2 separate regions of the Homo sapiens genome follow, and region 2 is linked to region 1. The links are contacts of gene promoters, found by promoter capture Hi-C in human tissues and cell types (Jung and others, 2019). All regions are on one chromosome and are shown on one strand. The core of a region is centred on a gene start or on the middle of the fragment in contact, and the rest is flanking DNA. Distances in the headings are between cores, read along the strand shown.

Region 1 (4,137 bases), core at 1,455-3,954:
TGAACCTGGGAGGCAGAGGTTGCAGTGAGCTGAGACTCAGCCACTGCACTCAAGCCTGGTGACCCGAGACTGAGCCACTGTACTCCAGCCTGGTGACAGAGCTAGACTCCGTGTCAAAAAAAATAAATTAATTAATACAGGAAAACAATGATAATGGTAGTGTGTACCAGAATTCATGTATCTTCCCAGTATTGTTTTCCCCATACCTCTTTATTCCCAATTAACCATTTGTTTTGTTGTCATTGGGGCATCCAGGTAGTAAGACCATTTGCTACTGAGCAAGAGTTGGTATACAAGTGACAAATCCTTCTTCCTTCCTTTCGAAGAGCTCAGAGGATGTCTACTAGTTCAGTTAACTGGCTGCTCCCACCCCTTTCTTCATCAGAAATGGTTATGTTTTTCGGTTGTTTGTTTTTGAGATGGAGTCTCAGTCTGTCACATAGGCTGGAGTGCAGTGGTGAGACCTCAGCTCATTGCAACCTCTGCCTCCTGGGATTCCAGTGATTCTCCTGCCTCAGCCCCCTGAGTAGCTGGGATTATAGATGCATGCCACCACACCTGGCTAGTTTTTGTATTTTTAGTAGAGATGGGGTTTCATCATGTTGGCCAGCCTGGTCTCAAACTTCTGACCTCGTGATCCACACATCTTGGCCTCCTGTGGATTTTGAGGGAACTCGTGACCTAAATCATAACAGGAAATTTAGGCCTCATAAAGACATCATGGTTAAAGCAGAGGTGTTTTGTTTCCAGTAAAGTCCAATAGCAAGCTAACAATTGTGCACAGGTGAGGAGAGCTGTCACGAAGCTTTGGCGCAGTCTGGGACCCTAGCTCTTTTGTAATGAGTTGTTTGGCACGAGGCTTAGTCATGAGGACCCTTCGCGACTGAGCTGAAGAAACACAAAAAGGTCACTTGTTTTTGGGATTGTCTGTTGTTTTTCAAGAACGAATGTATAGGAATAGATTGAAATACAGATTTCTCTGAAACAGCGCTGGATGAACGCCTCTAGGGGCTCACACAACCTGTTCCCGGACTTGGTGACCATTGTTTGTGTCCACGTTCAATTAGCACAAATTTATTATTTAACTTTGACTCCACACCAGACTATGGAGGATTCACCACCAGACCGGAAAGCAACAGGATGGGCTCCAGAGTTGGCCACCCATCGGTGCACAGACCAGGAGAGGTATAATGACGCTTCTGCGCGGTCTGGGAACCTAGCTCTTTTTGTAACGAGTTGTTCAGCATGAGGCCTAGTCACCAGGGCCCTTCATGACTGGTCTCAAGGAACACAGAAAGGTCAACTTGTTTTTGTGATTGTCTATTGTTTTTCTTTTTCTTTCTTTCTTTTTTTTTTTTTTTTTTGAGACGGAGTCTCGCTCTGTCGCCCAGGCTGGAGTGCAGTGGCGCGATCTCGGCTCACTCCAAGTTCCGCCTCCCAGGTTCACACCATTCTCCTGCCTCAGCTTCCCGACTAGCTGGGACTACAGGCGCCTGCCACCAGGCCTGGCTAATTTTTTGTATTTCTAGTAGAGACGGGGTTTCAGCGTGTTAGCCAGCATGGTCTTGATCTCCTGACCTCGTGACCCGCCCGCCTCAGCCTCCCAAAGTGCTGAGATTACAGGCGTGAGCCACCGCGCCCGGCCTTGTCTATTGTTTTTCAATAACGAATGTATAGGAATAGATTGAATAGATTGACATAGAGATTTCTCTAAAATAGCACTGGATGAACGCCTCAAGGGGCTCACACAACCTCTTCCAGGACTTGGTGACCATTGTTTGTGTCCACGTTCAATTGAGTTCAAATTAAATATTTAACTTTTCCTCCACAAATTCCCCTGTCTTGATGAATTGGTTTTGTCTGGGCAAAGGGCAAGGTAAACTCCTTGGGCGGTTACACAACCTCCACCTCCTAGGTTCAAGAGATTCTCCTGCCTCAGCCTTCGGTGTAGCTGGGACTACAGGTGTGCACCAGCACGCCCAGGTAAGGTTTTGTATTTTTAGTAGAAATGGGGTTTCACCGTGTTGGCCAGGGTGGTCTTGAACTCCTGACCTCAAGTGATTCGCCCTCTTTGGCTTCCCAAAGTGCTGGAATTACAGGCGTGAGCCACCGCGCCTGGCCCTAAATGATTTCCTTTCTGTCTCCTATAACAGTTTGAAATTACTTAAAAGTTGTTTCAAATTGAAAAAATAAAAAGAATGTAGATAAAAATAAAATATAAAAAGTTAAAAAAATTACATTAGATTACAAAATATATATGATGTATATGTAAGTCTCGAGAGGTCAAAAATGACAAATTTGATTTACTTACAAGGTTTTATTAAAATTAGCTTTCGTATTGATAATACACTATTACCAAAGTAAAAGTTTTCTCTTGAACAAAAATTTTTTGTATTATTAATATGACAGCCAAATACTTCTGTTCACCTTTTGAATACATTCAAAAAGAGAAAGAGTAAAAAAGAATTTTCCCATGCTCTCCGGTGGGCCTGGCTCAGCTCAAGGAGGAAGCCCGGCCTGAAAAGGCTGCAGCTGAGGCTGTGACTCTTTCTTCACTCAGCCCAGCATGTGATCACATCTTCTGTCACTCAGGGACTGAGGAGGCGGGGCCTTAAGCATTATCCAATCAGGGACGCTGGGTTGGAAACCGTCCAATCATGCAGGCAGCTGGAGCGAAGAGGAAGGCTTTCGGGTTTGGCGCGGCCATTTGTCTCTTGCTGCAGCTGGTGCTCCAAATCTGGTCTTAGCTGCTTCGTGTCTTCTTCTCCAGCCTCTGTGGCCCTGTGACCTGCAGGTATTGGGAGATCCACAGCTGAGGGACCCCCGGAAGCCTAGAAATGGTGAGAGTGCCTTTCCAGCATTCCGAGAGAGGGGAGGGACTGGTTGGAACCGATGGGAAGTGGCTGTGGCGGGACTTAGGCCTCCCCGCAGTCAGCTCCACAATCTGCGACCGACTTCTCCTTGCCCAGTTCGGCCTCAGTCCCCTTCAGCCATAAGATGGCAACAGCGCCGACAGCCGGGCCCCGCGGCGTCCTGTCTCTTCCCTGCCCTGGCCTGGAGCCCTCTCTGGGCAGCTCTGCACCCACAGCGCTGCGTCTCTCCCAGATTGTGCAGGGAGCACGGGAGGGTTCTCGGGGGAGAATCCTGACTCGGGGTGCAGGTTCATGAATGGGAAGAGCTTTGGTCCATGGGGTTGACAGTTTCTCTTTTCTCCTATTAAAAACTTATGGGGCCGGTCGCTGTGGTTCATGCCTGTAATCCCAGCATTTTGGGAGGTCGAGGCGAGCGGATCACTTGAGGTAAAGGGTTGTTAGTACAACGTAGTTCTTCTTCAAAGACGCAACTTCCTGGTCATAAGTTGGAAAAGTTGTAAATCACCCCTACCCCTTCTTCTCCCTTCTCCTTTTCTCACAAATCGCGCATTACCCGATTTGGAAAAAGCTTGAGTGTAAGCCAACCGGGATCAGCTTAGATTGTGCGGTCTGACCCCAGCCAATGGAGGGAAAACAAAAACAGAACTGCATTAGGGCTAATAACCCCTTCCCGGCCAGGCGCGGTGGCTCCTGCCTGTAATTTCAGCACTTTGGGGCGCCGAGGCGGGCGGATCACGTGGTCAAATTTCTAGACCAGCCTATCCAACGTGGTGAAACCTCTCTCTACTAAAAATACAAAAATTAGCCTGGAGTGGTGCCAAGCGCCTGTAATCCCAGCAACTTGGGAGGCTGAGGCCCGAGAATTGCTTGAACTCGGGAGGCAGAGGTTGCAGTGAGCTGAGATCCCTCCATCGCGCTCCAGCATGCGCGACAGAGGGAGAGTCCTCAAAAAAAAAAAAAAAAAAAAAAGTAAGCATCTTAAAATTTCCATCCTTTATGTAAACACTGTGTTTTAGTAACTTCACTGTATTTTCCAACACTTAGTTTCAAAAACCCAGTGAATAACTCTGGCATGGAAATTAAAGCTTGAACCTAGTGATTCCGAGCTAAGGCTAATATTAAGCCTGCAAAAGGAGGGTTTTTTTTTTTTTTTTGAGATGGAGTTTGTCCAGGCAGATGCAGTTAAGATTAAGATGAAAGGAAACTGGATGGGTCTTACTGATAATGATGTTATTGTTTTGAGGCACTTGTTTGACTTTGTAAA
Region 2 (4,369 bases), core at 407-2,906, 300 kb after region 1:
CATTACCTGCTACCTGCTCTGCTCTGACTCATTCTCCACCCGGCATAACCACTTTTTCCTACCAAACCACTTACCCCGTCACTCTCTTTAAATTAGCCAATCGGAATGAGTTTAGCCTGTCTGGTCTAACCCTAGCCAATAGGGGAAAGACACAGCAGCAGGGTCCACGTGCATCAAAGATAAGAACCCCTTTACCTCCCTTGTCCGGGTATGCGCTCACCATTGCTCCATCTGTAAGGGTGCACCCTTCTATAGAAGTACCTCGGCTTGCTGAGAATTAAAAAGAAAATGTTATATTTGAGTGCTATTTCTTTAGCCGCACCGAAACTTTATAACAGTACCTTCTACACGTGTTCCCATGTGACTAATCTTTTACTGCATAATTTTTAATAGAAATAATAAAATAATACATATATTGTCTGAAAAAAGTAGATATATTTGCTTTTCTTATGGAGGTGTAAAATGCAAGCAACTTAGCCAGGTACTGTGGCTCATGCCTGTAATCCCAGCAGTCTGGGAGGCCAATGCAGGTTGATCACTTGAGGTCAGGAGTTCAAGACTATTAGGCCTCTGAGCCCAAGCTAAGCCGTCATATCCCCTGTGTCCCACACATATACATCCAGATGGCCTGAAGCAAGTGAAGAATCACAAAAGAAGTGAAAACAGCCAGTTCCTGCCTTAACTGATGACATTCCACCAATTTGTGACCTGGAGGGGCATTCTCAGTACACTTTTGAGTAGAAATGTTCAGGAAGCAGGATAGTAGCCTGCTGGGAACATTAGTAAGAGGGGCTGCAAAGAAGATAATCAAAATATTGAATAAGGTGGGGTCAGGAGTTTGAGACCAGTCTGGTCAACAAGGTGAAACACTGTGTCTACTAAAAATACAAAAATTAGCTGGTGGTCATGGTGGGTGCCTGCAATCCCAGATTCTCAGGAGGCTGAGGTGGGAGAACTGCTTGAACCTGAGAGGCGGAGATTGCAGTGAGCCGAGATGGCACCACTGCACTGCAGAGATGGCACCACTGCACTGCAGCCTGGGCGACAGAGTGAGACTCCATCTCAAAAATAATAATAATTTATTTTGGCCACTGAAGACAAACTCAGCTGATTGTTTTAATGAGAATAAGGAGAAAATATGCAGAGTGTGTATCTGGCATTGTGATAAGTAAGAAAAGAGAGCATTATCTAAGTCGTAATGGGAAGAGTGTTTCTTTCCACAAACTGTTACTGGAGCACACAAAGGATGTAGAATTTTATTAATCGCAAATATTTTTTATGATTTTGTGTTTCATCTTTCCCCATCTCTTTTCTTTGTTCTATGCATTTCTTCCATTTGGCTTTTCCTGGGCTGCATTTTATATATATGAAACCGGTAAACGTAACTACAGTGTTTTGCTGAGTTCTGTGAGTAGCTCTACCCAATTATTCAACTTCAGGGAGGTTATGGGAGTCCCCAGTTTTTAAGCAGCAGCTCAGAAGCATAGATGGGCCCATGGGGTTTGTGACTGGCATCTGCAGTGAGGACAATGTTGTGGAACTGAGCCCTGAATCAGGGTCTGTGCTGACTCTGGGTGGTGTCAGATTTCAAATGTTAGACAATGAGTTGGTGTTGGAGAATTATTTGATGTTCAGCAAACTACAGATTTGGTGCCAGAAAAAAGATATCATGGAGCCCTGGCCTGGAATAAAATTCTGGGTGTTTGGGAATGGGACTGAAAACTTAGAGGAAAGGAGCGCTGATGACAGACCCCCTTTTCTTGCAGCTGTTACCACAGGATTCCCACCCACTCACAAACACACACACTAGACATTGACATGTCCACACTCCTCCCAGGACTAGGCACCACCCTCAGGAACTTCACCACGGCATTTTTGATCCAAGAGTTTCTTGCCAAGAACCCACAAGTCTCTACAAATCTGGCATATCCCCCTCCCTGGACACCGAATCTGCAGCAGCAACCTGTTTTCTCCACCAACCTAGGGTTCTGGACCTGCTTTTCACAATCTCGTCTGCCTGCATTCACACAGAAATAAATCAGAGTACAGCCCCACTGGGCCACTATCTGTAGCGAAAATCAGTCCACTTACCTACATTGCAATCTCCCCGACCCAGGAATTTTTTTTCTTTTAGCTCTTATTTTTGGTTTGGGGTACACATGTGGGTTTGTTACACAGCTATGTCATGGGGTTTGGTGTGCAGATTATTTTGTCCCTGAGTTACTACCTGTAGCACCAAACAGGTATGTTTTCTGATCCTCTGAGTCGTCCCATACTCCACCCTCAACTAGGCCTCAGTGTCTGTTTCTCTCTCTCTCTTTTTTTTATTTTTATTTTTGAGACCGAGTCTCGTACTCTTTCCCAGGCTGGAGTGCAGTGGTGCCATTTCAGCTCACTGCAAGCTCTGCCTCCTGGGTTCACACCATTATCCTGCTGCCTCAGCCTCCTGAGTAGCTGGGACTACAGGCGCCCTCCACCATGCCTGGCTAATTTTTTGTATTTTTAATACAGACAGGATTTCACTGCGTTAGCCAGGATGGTCTCTATCTCTTGACCTTGTGATCTGCCCGCCTTGGCCTCCCAAAGTGCTGGGATTACAGACATGAGCCACTGTGTCTGGCCTGTTCTCCTCTTTGTGTTCATGTGTTCTTATTATTTAGCTCTTACTTATAAATAATAACATGCATTTGGCTTTCTGTTTCTGCATTAGTTTTCTTTTTTTTGTTTTGTTTTGTTTTTTTGAGAAGGAGTTTTGATCTTGTTGTTTAAGCTGGAGTGCAATGGTATGATCTCGACTCACTGCAAACTTCGTTTCCTGGGTTCCAACAATTCTCCTGCCTCAGCCTCCTGAGTAGCTGAAATTACAGGAGGGCGCCACCACTCCTAGCTAATTTTGTATTTTTAGTAGAGACACAGTTTCTCTATGTCGGTCGGGCTAATCTCAAACTCCTGACCTCAGGTGATCCGCCCAAATCGACCTCTTGAAGTGCTGGGATTATGGGCCTGAGCCATCGCCTGGCCTCTGCGTTAGTTTTCTAAGAATGTTGGTCTCCACCTTCATCAATGTTATTGCAAAGGACATGGTCATTTTTTGTGTGTGTGTGTGGCCACCCAGTATTCCATGATGTTTCGTTTTTACTAAATTTTGTTTAGTAAATTTTTGTTTTTACTAAATTTTTTATTTTATTTTTGGAGACAAGCTTATTGCCCAGGCTAGAGTGCCAAGGCATGATATTGGCTTACTTTAGCCTCAACTTCCCAGGCTCAAGCAATTCTCTCCTACCTCATCCTCCCAAGAAGCTAGGACTACACACAGGCATTACCAAGCCTGGCCAATTTTTCTTTTTGCACTTTCCGTGGAGACAGGATTTTGCCATGTTTCCCAGGCTGGTCTCAAACTTCTAAGCTCAGGCAATTCACTTGCCTCCGCCTCCCAAAGTGCTGGGATTACAGGCATAAGCCACCGCATATGACCATACCATATTACCATATTTTCTTTATTCAGTCTACCATCGATAGGCATTTAGGGCCTGTCCTTATCTTTGCTAGTGTGAATAGTGCTGCAGTGAACATACATGTGGATGTGTCTTTATAATATAATAATTTATATTTCTTTGGGTATATACCCAATGATGAGATCCCTGGGTCAAATGATAATTCTGCTTTTAGTTCTGTGAGGAATCAACACACTGCTTTTTACAGTTGTTAAACTATTTACACTCCCACCAGCAGAGTATAAGCATTCTTTTTTCGCTGCAACCTTTGTCGGCATTTGTTATTTTTTTGAAATTTTATAAATAGCCATTCTGTTGGATGCGATGTGGTATCTCATTGTGGTTTTTCTTTTAATTTCTCTAATGATTAGCGATGAGCATTTTTTTCACACGATTGTTAGCCACATGTTTGTCATCTTTTGAAAAGAATCTCTTCAAGTTTTGTGATGTTACTTTTTAATGAGGTTTTTTTTTTTTTTTTGTAAACTTGTTTAAGTTCTTGGTTTTTTTTTTTTTTTTTTTTTTTGTCTTTTGTTTTTGAGATGGAGTTTCACTCTTGTTGCCCAGGCTGGTGTGCAATGGCCCAATCTTGGCTCACCGCAACCTCCACCTCCTGGGTTCAAGAGATTCTCCTGCCTCAGCCTCCCAAGTAGGTGGGATTACAGGCATGCAGCACCACGCCCTGCTAATTTTGTATTTTTAGTAGAGATGGGGTTTCTCCATGTTGGTCAGGCTGGTCTCAAACTCCCGGCCTCAGGTGATCTGCCCACCTCAGCCTCCCAAAATGCTGGGATTACAGGGGTGAGCCACTGCACCTGGCCTAAGTTCTTAATAAATTCTGGATATTAGACCTTTGTTAGAGAAAAAGTTTGCAA

Evidence for each region. The method cuts DNA at HindIII sites, captures the fragments that hold promoters and counts their contacts. A contact is called where the count stands out against the background at its distance.
Region 2: a fragment that was not itself captured here is called in contact with the fragment with the promoter of ZNF90 in region 1 in 2 of the 25 tissues and cell types used here (H1 embryonic stem cells and thymus).

The regions. Positions count from the first base shown.
Region 1 is chr19:20,075,296-20,079,432 of GRCh38, forward strand. ZNF90 (zinc finger protein 90) reads left to right here and starts at 2,705. Exons shown (of 4, transcript NM_007138.2): 1 at 2,705-2,840. The coding sequence starts at 2,838. RefSeq lists an enhancer at 2,648-3,127. The HindIII fragment of the contact is 4,387 bases long and covers 1-3,699 here.
Region 2 is chr19:20,375,740-20,380,108 of GRCh38, forward strand. No RefSeq gene overlaps it. Among named protein-coding and RNA genes, the nearest start is that of MIR1270, 21 kb to the right of the region's middle. The HindIII fragment of the contact is 5,069 bases long and covers 1-4,191 here.